Linked DNA regions of Homo sapiens: regions 2 and 3 are each linked to region 1. The links are contacts of gene promoters, found by promoter capture Hi-C in blood cells and fetal thymus (Javierre and others, 2016). All regions are on one chromosome and are shown on one strand. The core of a region is centred on a gene start or on the middle of the fragment in contact, and the rest is flanking DNA. Distances in the headings are between cores, read along the strand shown.

Region 1 (4,796 bases), core at 1,648-4,147:
CTGCTTGTGGAAAGGTCCACCACCTCCAAGTAATCTGGGTACTGCTCTTGGTCACTTAAAGCAGTTCCTGGCACACTGTAATACTCTAAAGCTGCTCAGGGCTGTTAGAGCTCTTTTCCGTCTCTTGGCATGAGACCTCATAAAAAGAAATGGACTGTATCAGAGAGGTCTGAGCTATGAGCGCCTTGCTATTGTTCATATTATGAAATATTTTTTCACATTATGAAATATAATGAACTCCTCACCATATTCCACTTTGGGCTCCAAGTGAGAGTTCAACACTTAACCCTGGGGCTTCTGAAACCCAAGTACCCCAGGAATAACTGAGATCAGAGGCAGGGGGTTGGAATAATTGACTCTTCCATAAATTCCCTCAATACCTTAGGGATTTCTGCTCATCAGAAACTTCCCCTTCAGTCTTGATAGCCAAGGAACATGAAAGGATAATAAGAATCACCACCGACCTGGGAGATAACTTTTATTGGGTGCTCCTTTTGTGGCAGGCACTGTGATAAATGATTCACGTAATTTGTTCTCATTTGATTTTTTTTTTTTTTTTTTTTGAGACAGAGGCTTGCTTTGTCTCCCAGGCTGGAGTGCAGTGGCGTGATCTCAGCTCACGGCAACCTGCACCTCCCGGGTTCAAGCAATTCTCTTGCCTCAGCCTCCTGAGTAGCCAGGACTACAGGCGCATGCCACCACGCCTGGCTAATTTTTTGTATTTTTTTTTTTTAAGCAGAGACGGGGTTTCACTGTGTTAGCCAGGATGGTCTCGATCTCCTGACCTCGTGATCCGCCCACCTCGGCCTCCCAAAGTGCTGGGATTACAGGAGTGAGCCACCGCACCCATCCCTCACTTGATTCTTACAACAGTCCTCTAGAGTTGACACAGGAGGAAACTGAAACTTAGAGCAATAAAACAACTTGTCCAAAGGTTACGCAGCTGATAAGAGGCAGAGCCAGGCTTTGAAACCAGGTGCTTCCAGCCCTAAAGCCTGCATCCTTTCTTAACCAGTAAGCAAACTGCCCTCATTTACTTATTCATTTAAATGATAAACACATGAGAAGAGCTCGCTAAATTAAAAGCAGATTATTTTACAAGGGAAAAAATGGAAAAGGAAGACCATTTAGGAACGGTTTCCAGTGGAAATAAATCTCCACTTCTCCCACTCTCCTCCCACCATGCAGCTCTTCCGTGCATTTCTTAAATTAAGGTGTGTGGATGTGTACAAATCCCACAGTTTCGTTGTTGATTGGTTGATAACAATGGGGAATTGAGAAGGAGATGGAGTACAAACGGTCAAGGCCTCCTGGCTGGCCACCTGTCATCTACCTTATACTGACCTTGGAGCCCAGAATCCAGTTCATCTAACCACTTGTCCCCATCTGTGTCCAGAATGTCCATCAGGGTGAGGCCTGTTGTGTAGTGCCGGCATCCAAAGAAAGTTCTCTTCTCCCCCACCAGATGGAAGCAGCGGAATCTATCAGCATCAACAAGGCTTCTAACGGCAATCATATCCCCTCCAGCATCCATCTCCTTAACTACAATTCTTGTGATTTCCTCAAATACGCTGAACATTGCGCCTGGACCAACTCAGAAACAGAAGCCAATTTCAGTTTTTGGGAGGAGGGTATTGGTTCAAGTATTTAAATCTTCCACATTTGGCAGCCTGAGGTGTCAGGCCTCTGAACCCAAGCTAAGCCATCATATTCCCTGTGACCTGCATGTATACATCCAGATGGCCTGAAGCAACTGAAGATCCACAAAAGAAATGAAAATAGCCTTAACTGATGACATTCCACCATTGTGATTTGTTCCTGCCCCACCCTGATACAATATAGTCTCCCCGCCGCCGCCCTTAAGAAGGTACTTTGTAATATTCTCCCCTGCCCTTAAGAAGGTACTTTGTAATATTTCTCCACCCTTGAGAATGTACTTTGTAAGCCTATCCCAAACATATAAGAACTAATGATAATGCCACCACCCTTTGCTGACCCCTTTTTTGGACTCAGCTTGCCTGCACCCAGCCTTGTTGCTCATATAAAGCCCGTTTCGTGGACTCTCTTCACATGGACGCACGTGACATGAGGTCAAGGAAGAGCCAAAGGTTCCAGGACAATCAGTACCTGGAATGATTTGCCTGCCTTACTTCTAGAACGTGAGGCAGCCATGACTCAGTAAAGAGGGCTAAACATCACAGATCCCAGATTCTCCTCTGCCCCTCATGGTACCCATCTGGAGGAAAAAAGTAGCAGCTATTGCCCCAAATAGAGAAAGTGAGACCCATTTTCTACATCTCCCACAGCAGAGTTGCCCCCTTGTTCCAAGGGGCCCAAGGGATGGAAAGGCAGGCCCACCATGCCCCAGCCAGACTAGCCCCAACGTTGATGAACAGAGGAACCAGGGAGGAATGACGGGCACGGTTGCCAGACTTCACATTACTAACCTCAACTGGTCGTTTCTTCCCTTGGCTCTGATTCTTGGGCTCCCTGCCTTGCTGTATTCTGCAAGGCAATTGGATGGGTGCCTCCCTACCAACAATTTCCCAATGAGGTGGTGGTAAATTGGCCTCAGAAGAAACAAAAGCTTCCTGGGATCCACTTCCCCATCCTACCTTTGGCCACCTTCCCCTATATCCCTTCTGCCCAGCACAGGCACTTATCCACTCACTGCTTCCTCCTCTGTCTCTGGCCCCATCATGGTGGTTGACTCTCAGTTCACTACCAACCTGGGAATTCTAGGTGTCTGGAAAGACAGTACCCGGGAACCACAGGCCCATCTCAAGTGGTACCCACCTCCTCTCTGACCTCAGCTGTTCACCAGAAATGGAAGTTGTGAGAATCCCCACAGATCTCTGCACAGTTCCTGGCCTCTGAATCTCAGGAAGCTAAAATAATGAAACTGAAAGTTGTCCAGGTGTGGAACTTCCTGGACGGGTGGGTAGGGCTGGGTGCCCCACCTCCCAAGCCTTTAGATAAGCCACCTTATAACTGAGCTGGAGGCAGATTAAGGCCAGAACCCCCCTTTTTTTTTTTTTTTTGAGACGGAGTCTTGCTCTATCGCCGAGGCTGGAGTGCAATGGCGCAATCTCGGCTCACTGCAAGCTCCGCCTCCCAAGTTCACGCCATTCTCCTGCCTCAGCCTCCCGAGTAGCTGGGACTACAGGTGCCTGCCACCACGCCCAGCTAATTTTTTTGTGTGTGTTTTTTAGTAGAGACGGGGTTTCACCGTGTTAGCCAGGATGGTCTCAATCTCCTGACCTTGTGACCCACCCACCTCGGCCTCTCAAAGTGCTGGGATTACAGGTGTGAGCCACCATGCCCGGCCAGAACCCCTTCTTCTTCTTGTACCTAAGGAGTGGGTAGGAGATCCTGGTATGTATTCTAGGTGAGTGTGGGCCAGACAATGGTGCACACCGTGGCGCCCTGGGCCATGCAATCCAGTGTGTTTGGAATAGAGAAATGGAATATGAGTAGGTATCAAGTGCCAGCAGGCAATGGCTGTGTCTGTGCCAGGGACATGAGGACCATAACCCAGCAGAACCAGCTGCCCAAATGCCATGCGACGGTCAACACTGAAGACCCAGGACAACAGCAGCTAACACCTGGAGGCAACAGGGTGGGCCTGTAAGGAGCACTCAGCCTCCCTCCCCATCTCGTGCTCCCGTGTACACTCTCAAGGAGATGCTGGTCTTCCTTATCTGGATGCCATCTGGCTTCTCCACCTACCTCCTTCTCCAGGGAGAGGCCTCTGACCTCACCCATGTCCTCTCTCAGAGATAACCACCCCGGTGAGCCCAGCCTGTCTTCCAGCCTCTGCATGCCTCAGTTCTGAAAGAACATTTGAAGGGATGACAGGCCAGGCGTGGTGGTTCATGCCTGTAATCCCAACACTTTCAGAGGCCGAAGCAGGCAGATCACTTGAGGCCAGGAGTTCAAGACCAGCCTGGCCAACATGGCGAAACCCCGTCTCTACCAAAAAAAAAAAAAAAAAAAAAATTAGCCAGATGTTTTGGCACACACCTGTAATCCCAGCTACTCAGGAGGCTGAGGCATGAGAATTGCTTGAACCTGGGAGGCGGAGGTTGCAGTGAGCCAAGATGGTGCCACTGCACTCCAGCCTGGGCAACAGAGCAAGACTCAGTCTCAAAAAAATAAATAAATAAATAAATAAATAGACGACAGTGGTGGTAGTAACAATTACAATTATAATAATATGGCTACCATATATTGAGTATTTACTATATGCCAGGCACTGTGCTAATGCTCACAACAGCCCTAAGAGGCATTATCTTTACACAACAGTGGAATAAACTGAAGCTCAGAGAAGTTGACACAGCAACATGGCTAATAAGTGGCAAAGCTGGGATTTGAACCCAGATCGTTGTTGATGTTCTCCAGCACCTCACCCTGACTATACTCTTGCAGGCTGGTGAAAGCAACCAGGGCACCCCTACTCCCAGGAGTGAAAGCAGTGGCTATATTTCTCTTTCCAATACTGTGTGGGCTCTACTCGGACAGGGGTGGTGGCTGGACTTGGGCAAATATCCCACACTCCCTGACACTCACTCCAAGGGTGCTGTGATGGTGGACCGGGGCTAGAGACCCCAGGCTGCTGGGGACAGCTCCTCCCTTCTACCTGGGACTTTGTGCCTCTCCTGGGAATAGCAGCTGATACTCCCCAGAACACGCTGGAAGGTCAGTGCCCTCGTGAGATAAGGATTCCTTGCTATAGGACTCCTCTCTCTCCTAGCCATGTTGGCCTCAGAAAGTCCCCAGAACCTCTTCCCCTGCCA
Region 2 (4,796 bases), core at 1,713-4,212, 210 kb before region 1:
GGGCAGGCAGGTGGCCAGATGGGAGGAGAAGCGCTCCTCTTGTTCAGGCGAATGACCTTTCCATCCACTTCTCTAGGCTGTAGAAAGTGGAGCTGAGCTGGGGGCCCTGAGGTTCCCTCTTGACTTCAGAGTCCTCTCCCTTCCTGTCCAGCCAATGCCTGTCTTCCTTTTGGGCCCTACCAGCATGACAGGGGGCTGCGGGCAGGAGGGGACAGAGGCCACGTTGACACACAGGGCTGTGGGTGAGAGAGACAGCTGAAGTGTCAGCGTGAGGGGCCAGTGTGGGGCTGCGGCTGGGAGGGCTGGGGTGGGGCCCAGGGTAGTTGTGCCTGTCCTTGGGTGATGGAATGATCTGGAAAGAGATTCCTTCCCTGCCCTCCACCTGTGAGAAGCCCCTCTAGAGTGACATCTCCATCTTATGTTTGGCCACCCATCCTCCCCCTGGGAAGAGAGCCGAGGTGGGGTAAGGGATGTGTACTCTTTCAAGGAGTGGGAGAATTATTCTAGCGAATGTTTGTGTTGTCCCAGTTCTGTTTACAAAGCCTCGTCATGTTTACAGATGGCTGCGCAATTCATTACCTCATTTAACTCTCATGTACCTCCTCTGAGGGAGTAAGAGCTGTTACAGCCAAGTTTAGGTCAGTAAATATTCACCAAGTTGCAGGTACTGCAGGGCATAGAGATGAATCCGATTTAGCTTCTGCCCTGGAGGTCTGGGAACTTGCTCAAGATCACTCAGTGAGCAGCTGAGCTAGGGTTCTCAACTAAAGACCCTGGGCCCAGGCCCTGGTCTGATGTCAGGCCTGATACACCAGGTGTTTGTGGTCGGGGAATCCCAGTGTCACTTGAATGGGCTGTGACATTATGGGTCTGGGAGAGCTGAGCTTTGGGGACACAGGTCATTTTACTGTAGTATTCATGGAAACCAAGGGAAGTATTGGCTTTTCTGCTGTGAGCAAGAGGAGCAGCTGGGGCTGCAAGCTGGTGGGGAGGAGAGAACCCACCTGAGAGAAACCTCAGGACTGGGGTCAAGTCCTGACCACCAGAGTCCAGAGAGACATGAAGGACTGTGACCAGCTCTGAGCAGAGAGATGGATTCCATGACCTCAACTGGTCCCTTTTGTTCGGAGACTCGTGACTGGACTTCATTCATCCACTCATTCATTCATTCACTCAGCAGACACTTATCTAGCGCTCCCTGTGGCTGGTCCTGCCTCATACTGTCTTTGCTCTGGAGAATTGGAGGTTGGGGTTCCTGAGGGGCAGGGTCCTGGAGACAAGGACACTCCTGGGTAGAATTAGGACCTACCCCCCAGGAAATCAACGGGGACCAGGTGCCGTGGCTCACACCTGTAATCCCAGCACTTTGGGAGGCCGAGACGGGCGGATCACAAGGTCAGCAGTTCAGGACCAGCCTGGCCAACATGGTGAAACCCGCCTCAACTAAAAATACAAAAATTAGCCAGGTGTGGTGTCAGGCACCCGTAATCCCAGCTACTGAGGAGGCTGAGGCAGGAGAATTGCTTGAACCCGGGAGGCAGAGGTTGCAGTGAGCCGAGATTGCGCCACTGCACTCCAGCCTGGCGACAGGGCGAGACTCCATCTCAAAAAAAGAAAACCAATGGGACAGGGCAGATATGGGGACAATGGTAAGGAGATGGGAGAGTGGGAGGGAGGTGTCAGGAAGACCTTCTTGACTTCATGTAGGCTGGTGGGGGTGTTAGCCAGCAAGCCTCCAGTTCCCTGGGAACCGTTCTCAGGGTACCAATTTTACCACCTGTCTGCAAACACTTTAAGATTCTTAATCAGACTCAAATTGGCCACAAATCAGGTAAACAAACTCACTAGTGGGGTGGGGCTACCACCCGTTCTGACCCTCCAGCCCAACCCAGCCCAGCCACCCTGCCCTCCGTAGAGCCTGTGGTGTTTATCGGTGGCATTGGGAGAATTAGTGTGTATTTATGTTGGCGTGGGGTGTGGGGTGGATTTGTGTGTGTGCAGTTAGGCCTAGTGGAAGGAATGTGGGATCTGAAGGCAGGCCAGCCTGAGTTCCAGTCCTGCCTGTTGCTCACAAGCTTTATGAGGCGAGAGCTAACCCCTGCCAGCCTCAGTTGTCTTCTTTGCAAGATGGAGGTTGCAGCCCCAGTCTCTGGAGCATGTTATGCAGATCCACCGAGAGTGCCTGCCAGGCACACAGTAGGTGCTCAGCTCAGTTACTGTGGCGGCCCCCACTCCCCATTGTTGTTGTTTTCCTATTGCCTGGCGGCCACAGCTGGTATCCCTTGAAAAGGGCTACAGGGGGTGGAGTCGGACCCTGCCCCAGCCCTGTGGAGACCCTGGGCTTGGGCCAGGGCCTGGGGTCTGGGCCTGCAGACAGCTGTGTCTATAAAGCAGCTGAAGGGCTGAGGCCGGGGGAGGTCCTGGCAGCAGGGCGTTATTTTGGGCCTGGCCTGCCACCCCCAGCTCCTGTTTCTCTTGGGAGTCTGTTGGGGGAGGAAGTGTGGGGAAGAGGAGGGGGTGCAAGTGGGTGAGGCATGGAGTGGGGAGGCCTCCCTCAGGGACATGGACCCTTGAGTTCTATTTCTGTTCCTCCCTCCTGTTCCTCCCTCTTTGTCCTTATCTGCCTAGAGAGGTGGGAATAGAGGCCATTCTGAGTATCACTAGGAGACCACCAGTTTGTGGCCACTGGCCACTGGCCCAGGCAGGGAACCTGGGGGCTTGCCCTACCAGCCTCTCCCAGCAATCTGAAGGCAGGGGGTACCTCGTATTACCCCCTAGGATTTGACCTTAGGCTCCAACTTGCTGGGAGAGCAGTGCCTCTGGTGTCAGACCCCAAGCCAGCCCTTGTGCTGTCCCTGAATCTGCATGTAGCCTGTGGGAGGCGGAGCAGTGACCGGCAGGAATTCTGGGCAGCTCAGGCACCTGTGGGCCTGAGGGTGCCCTCTGCCCCCACCCTTCCGATCTCCTGGGCAAGACACGCCAGGTGATTCATCTCACCAGAGCAGAAAAACAAGTTCAACTGGGCACTTTAATCTCCCCTCACTGGCAGGCCTGGTGTGAGCTGCTACCCCGGCGCCCCTCACCAGGGGTGCTTTACCTCCTCTAGTATTCCTGACCTTAGTGGGCATTTCTGGTCTCAGGGATACCAGGCTGGGGTCCAAGTGGGCCAGGTGTGGCAGTTCAGCCCTATGCCCCATGGCTGATGGCTCGCGCTGGGCAGGTATGCAGGGCTGACGTAGTGCCTTTGTGGCAGCAGTTTCGTGGCACACATTCTGCCAGCTGGTTCTGGAGTCTTGCCCTGAGGAGGTGGCCAGGGTGAGGGTGCCAGCGCAGGAACCTTTGGCGCATGCTTCACCCTGGCCTGGGATCTGCAGCCTGGGTCCAGATGCCCACAACTGGAATCTGACGCTCCTTTTCTCTTCATGGGGGACTCCCAGAGGTCTCTGCAATGACCAGAGCCCCGGTTGTCCCATGCCTCAGCTGCAACTCCAGCTGACCCTCCTTCCCCACTCTCTGGGTGGCATTACGGGGGTGTGGATCCCTTGCCAAGAGGTTGGCATGTGGGTGTGCTGGAATGGCATAGGGAGAATGCACCGAGTTTGTTTGCTTGGGAGAGGGGCAGGGGGTATCCAGAAGATTCATGATTCGTCATCGCCTCTCTTGGGGGATTTTTACCCCTTTGCCCTGAGTTGTGCCTTTGGGACAAAGGAAGCCTTTCTTTGCCAGCCAACACCCTGTACTGGCGGGCGAGCTCCCCAGGGCTGGCACGCTGGGGCAGCCTCTGAATGCACAGGGTGGGCCTAGTCAGAAGAAGCCTTTCCCCTGAAATCCCTCTACTTCCCAAGCACGCAAGCTTTCTCCTGCTGTTAAACCTGCAGTGTGCAAGGGACATGGGCGGAGGGGTCCTTCAGTCAGGCTTCTCCCTGTCTGAGGTGGCATGACTTGGAGTGAGTTTGGATGGGGTGGCCAGGTCTGAGAAGGTCCCCCGCCAGTGTCCTCTGACCCATCTGCTCTCTCCTGCCAGTGTGCACCGGCACAGACATGAAGCTGCGGCTCCCTGCCAGTCCCGAGACCCACCTGGACATGCTCCGCCACCTCTACCAGGGCTGCCAGGTGGTGCAGGGAAACCTGGAACTCACCTACCTGCCCACCAATGCCAGCCTGTCCTTCCTGCAGGTGAGGCCCGTGGGCAACCCAGCCAGGCCCTGCCTCCAGCTGGGCTGAGCCCTCTGTTTACAGGTGGGTGGCAGAAGAAGGTGCCCTGCCCTTCTGTTTCCTCTCTTGTTGTGGTTTCTCAACCAGGAAGTCCTTTCTAACATCTAACCCCCATTCATTTTACTGCAGAATCAGTTGACTCTCTCTATAACGTGGCTGGCCGAGGTCATGTCTGGATGGGATGCGTCTGTGTTTCCGCTAAATCTTGTGCTCTCTTGCCAGCATGATCATGTCCCCTGTCCACCTGCTCCAGCCACTATCCCTCTCCCACTTACAGCAGAAGAAAGGGCTGGTGAGAAAGGTGGATTACAGGCCCACTTCTGCCACTGACGAGCCCTATGAATGTGGCCTACACCCCCTTAGCTTCACTGGGTCTCAGTTTCCCTATCTGTATATTGGGAGCAGTTGTGAAGCTCAGAAGAGAAATGTCTGTGAAAAGGTTATGAACAGGAGGGAGAGTGGAAACCAACCTGCTGGATCGTGTCCACAGACCCTGGAATGGGGCCACATGCTTGGTTTGTCAAATTGCAGACGCCGGCCGGGTGCGATGGCTCATGCCTGTAATCCCAGCACTTTGGGAG
Region 3 (4,796 bases), core at 1,571-4,070, 140 kb before region 1:
GTAATGCTTACAGGATTATGGACATCAGGCCTTTGGGAAGGGGTTGGAAAAATACTTTTTTTTCTCTTAGAAACAGGTATTAAAACTGCTTCCTGTTGCTGTTAACCAAAGCAGGCAATTTCTCATTAGTTACTTCACAGGGAGATCCGATGGTTTGTTGAAGTGTCAAAACCTCATTAACATGTTTACCACAGGTGAGTGAGATCTTTTTTTCATGTTCTTTTCGTTATGAAAACTTCCTTTAATAAAGTAATACATAAAACTTTTAAAATAAGGAGATGCTATGGTAACCACTTTGGTCTGAATAACATCTGTTTTTTTGGGAAAGAATAAAAATCAGGAGAAATATGCAGAAATGTAGTCATTTTTCTTCTGCATCCAAGAGAGAAATCCATTTTGAGCCAAGTATTTGAGGATGGCCTAGTTTGAAGTGTAGTCAAACAAGTTTATAACAGGAGAACAAGATTCAGAGAAAGGAAATCCCCTAAAGGACAGTATGTGCAAAGGAAGGTCTTCTTGTCCTTTGAAAAGAACAACTTAAACAGAATTATTCTGACAATGTAAAGATGGTGATTCCTGATGGACGTGTGTCCATTTTTTTTTTTCCCATTTGAAACAAAGACATACAAAATTTCTTGGAGAATTAGAAAAAAAAATATTTTTCTCCAACTTGAGAGCATGTTTGTGTCTCAAAATACATTTAGACTTGATCCAATCTGTCCCTCTTCCCCAGTTCATCTCTAATGGATGCAAAATGCTCCCTACTGGTAATTATCGCCAGCCCGCCTGAGATAGCAGCGGGCTGACCTGATGGTCTATTTTCACCTTTACCCTCACAGTTCAAGAGGTCAGGGAAGTCAAGGCTGGTCTGAGTGCTGTGCAACTGTCAGCAAGGATTAAAGGGAATGACTCACTCTTCCTTCACACCTTACCCATTGCCATTACCCTGGCAGCTGAATCTTCAAAAAACAGTGCCTTGGAGAGGAAATATAGGAGAAAGGAGAGAAGAGGAGAAGAGAAGGGAGGAGAGGAGGGAAGAGGAGGGGAGGGAACAAGAGGACAAGAGAGGAGAGGTGAGGTGAGGCGAGGCAAGGCGAGGGGAGATGGAGAGAAAACAGTAGCCCCATGTTTTACATCACTTCATCTCATACACTGCACAGTGTCACAAATAATGTTCCTTTCTCCCTCCGTTGACATTACTATTTTCTATCACAAAGGTTGATTCAATTAAATAATTTAAGGGGTTTCTTTTATTTTTAATTTTTAAAAACCTTTCAAACAAAAGTTTAGGATATAAGTTAATGCAAGAAGATTAGAACAGTGCCCAAAACAAGAATACCATATATATGACAGGAACTCTTAACCTTCTGTATGATGAATGAATGGACAAAAAAGTGAGTGAACAAGTAGTACTGCCCTAAGTAAAACACATGAATGTCGGGCTAATGCGACTGTGTTTTAGATTCTCAGATTTATACCATCTTCCTAAAACAAAAAAGACTCTAAAAACCTAGGATATGGTTTATAGCATAAACACCACATCTGTATAGCCTTGAGAAAAAGGCTATCTGAAGTTACGCACATGGGCTTTCTAAACACACAGTGGTATCAATAATTGCTGCCTTTTATTTCTTTTCTAATTAATCTCACAGACTTGTACATGGGAGGAGACTTCCTGGTCACTTCATCACCTATTCAGTCTCCTCATTTCACAGATGAGTAAAGAGAGGCCCAGAAAGGTTCTGTGATTGGTCTAAACACACAGTTAAGAAATGACAGAGCTAGGATCAGAACCTGGGTCTTTTAGCTTCTAATCCAGTACTCTTCTTATTGCACTACAACACAACTTACGAAAAAAAAAAAAAATTCCCCCAGTTATTCTGGGCCCTGAAGCCCTGAAGTTGCTACCTCAATCAAGAGCTAACTCTACTAGGTTTCTGATTCCAGCACAGAGAGAATGTGATGGTTCAGAAGATGAGAGAAATCAACACCTACAAGATCAGCATCTCTCACAAGTCTGGAAGTAGTGAAGTGAAAATCCTCTGGTTGCAATTGTAGCAAACAAACGAAATAGATCCCCGAGGCAACAGGCAAAATGGCATGAATTTGCACATATGAAACATGCTATATTTTTGAACCCATGAAATACCAAAGCAACTTTTATTATATTAAGTAGGGCTTTAGTTCAACTATAGGTTTAGGGCAACCGAAAATACTAGGGACTGTCTCTCAAATTTTAGTTGTCTTACACCAAAATGCATTGACCACAACTGGATTGAAATTAAGTCACAGCTGGGCGCAGTGGCTCACGCCTGTAATCCCAGCACTTTGGGAGGCCAAGGCGGGTGGATCACCTGAGGTCGGGAGTTCAAGACCAGCCTGACCAACATGGAGAAACCCTGTCTCTACTAAAAATACAAAATTAGCCAGGCATGGTGGTGCATGCCTGTAATCCCAGCTACTCAGGAGGCTGAGGCAGGAAAATCGCTTGAACCCAGGAGGCAGAGGTTGCGGTGAGCCGAGATCGCGCCATTGCACCCCAGCCTGGGCGACAAGAGTGAAACTCTGTCTCAAAAAAAAAAAAAAAAGAAAGAAAGAAAGAAATGAAGTCGCTTTACATTTTTTTCTTGCCCAGCTCTCCCTATGATGTCCCTCCTCTTGTCGGCTTCAGCCATTTCTAGAGTCAAAGCTTTCTCCAGACCAGCCTGGGCAACATGAGGAGACTCTATCTCTACAAAAAGTTTAAAAATTAGCTGAGCCTGGTGGTGCGTGCCCATAGTTCCAGCTACTTGGGAGGCTGGGGTAGGAGGATTTCTTGAGCCCAGGTGTTTGAGGCTGTGATTGCACCACAGCACGCCAGCCTAGGCAGTACAGTGAGACCCCGTCTCAAAACAAACCAACAAACAAAACCCATAACTTTCTCCAAACTAAAATACACTCAGAATAATAAGGCAAGCTTTCTTTTGTACTCCAGTCAGAACCTCTTCACATAAGTAAAGCCCAAAAGATATATGGGAATATTTGTAGACAATGTCTTAAACTCACCATTTGTTTACTGTGCCTAAACTCTAAATGGAAGTCACTACATGCTCCCCTGACATGTCTCACCAAGGGGAGGGAGGACAGCAAGGAGGAGGGGATCTCCCTAAACTGAAATATACCAACTTTTCTCTGACACAATTTGTTCTTAAAGTGACTAAAAGTGCACAAAAACCTTTCAGCTAGTCAAAATAAAATAAGTAGGCAGAAATACCAAATTAGGTAATTTTGAAATATATGGGTTCTTTCAATATACCTCTATAATTCACATAGACTGTTTGCTTGTCAAAACATTATCTATACCAGAATCAAATTTAGTCAGATTTAAAAACCAGGCAGGCAACTTATTATCTGTAAGAGCTATTGAGAAGAATAAATACAAAAGGACTGAAATAAAAAATCAACAGCGGCAAGCAGCTTTGGAAAAAGAGGCTGAGACAGGTTTCTAAAATATTACTGATGTTGAGGGAGGTCTATTTTCATGTGATAACTATTTTTGTTCAATATCACCAACTTTCAATTTATAGCAAAACTGATACATTCAATTTCAGCTGTCTACTTCACAAATACAAATCTATTTCAAATATCATGGTCACATTTATGTAAACATCTGGGAGAGTTCAGCAAAATGTCTCTGCCATTTGGAAGTCCTAACACTTCAATGAACATAATTATTTCATACCCATCTCATTCTGCTGTATTTTTTGACAATGTGAAAACCAATGGCATAAAAATGAACTCCAGTAAGACAAATGATTAAATCAAACCTTGTTATTTAAATCTATGTTTGCCCAACCACTTTCCCTTAAAGCCAATTCTCAAATTCAAGAAAATATGGCAATATGTTTTAGAGCATGAAAAAAGTTTGAGCATGCTAACGAACCAACTTGTAAAATATAATTACAAAAGATTACAAAAATGCTATCTTGAACATCTTACTGGTATAAATTGCATAAACTCTCTCATGCAACATATGTCATTCAGAGTAAAGAGGAAGGAACAGGATTTTAAACATCACATCCATTTAGGAAATTGGATATCAACTACTCCCATCTCCTGTCATGATGATGCTTTAGTTAATATCTTTTATTCTATTTTCCAGAGCTATCAGAATGAACCATGAAGAATAAAAGTACACAATGAAAAACTAATTATTTTAACAGAGGTTAAGCTAGGAAAGGCCTTGTGTAGCAAGCATCCTATGTTATTTCATTCAAACTATCTGCTAACAACAGCAGGAAAAAGGTTTGTATTCTTACCAATGAATTTCTGAGGCATTGAGCTTTTTCGTTTTGCCACATTGCTTGCTAATCTGTCCAGTACGAGAGCTCTTTCACTTCCCATCTCTGCTTTGATGTGTCTTGCCTCCGCACTTGCTAGTTTGGAAAAATGTAAAAAGAAGAGAGAAAAGAACACATTGGTACATGGGGAGAAAAGGAAATAAACTGGAAGGAGAAGTGTCCGAAGTTGGATGCACACTCTATTGTTGTTACCTGTTATAACTGCTCAGATTCTTGCCTGGGGTACCTGCTGTGGTCAGTGAAGCCGACACCAGGGCACATTCAAATCTTGCAGTCTTATGCCGAGATGGGAAAGCTCGACCCATCCCCAACCAGTACCTTCATTAGCAAGAGGAAGTATTAAATAAACAGCCTGGACGTGGTTGGTTGCAAAAAGATAGATAGATGGAGATCTAACCCCCGATCAGCCTTCTTTCTGATTCTGAGTAACTGCGTGTGACACCTGCAGACTGATAT

What was found. Contacts are between HindIII fragments. The CHiCAGO score rates a contact against its expected background, and 5 or more counts as called.
Region 2: a fragment that was not itself captured here is called in contact with the fragment with the promoter of GSDMB in region 1 in 1 of 17 cell types (activated CD4 T cells); the score reaches 5.2 in activated CD4 T cells.
Region 3: a contact is called between a fragment that was not itself captured here and the fragment with the promoter of GSDMB in region 1, in 4 of 17 cell types (activated CD4 T cells, naive CD8 T cells, megakaryocytes and 1 more). The highest score is 6.6, in activated CD4 T cells.

What each region holds. Positions count from the first base shown.
Region 1 is chr17:39,915,738-39,920,533 of GRCh38, forward strand. GSDMB (gasdermin B) reads right to left here and starts at 2,898. Exons shown (of 11, transcript NM_001165958.2): 1 at 2,797-2,898; 2 at 1,345-1,593. The coding sequence starts at 1,579. RefSeq lists an enhancer at 457-946, promoters at 1,498-2,127, 1,678-2,086, 2,810-3,172 and a cis regulatory region at 3,151-3,164. The HindIII fragment of the contact is 7,383 bases long and covers 2,586-4,796 here.
Region 2 is chr17:39,702,966-39,707,761 of GRCh38, forward strand. It overlaps ERBB2 (erb-b2 receptor tyrosine kinase 2), which reads left to right. Exons shown (of 27, transcript NM_004448.4): 2 at 4,025-4,176. Among named protein-coding and RNA genes, the nearest start is that of ERBB2, 5.3 kb to the left of the region's middle. RefSeq lists an enhancer at 1,829-2,701. The HindIII fragment of the contact is 1,778 bases long and covers 2,074-3,851 here.
Region 3 is chr17:39,773,353-39,778,148 of GRCh38, forward strand. IKZF3 (IKAROS family zinc finger 3) reads right to left here. Exons shown (of 8, transcript NM_012481.5): 7 at 4,299-4,415. Among named protein-coding and RNA genes, the nearest start is that of GRB7, 38 kb to the left of the region's middle. The HindIII fragment of the contact is 267 bases long and covers 2,688-2,954 here.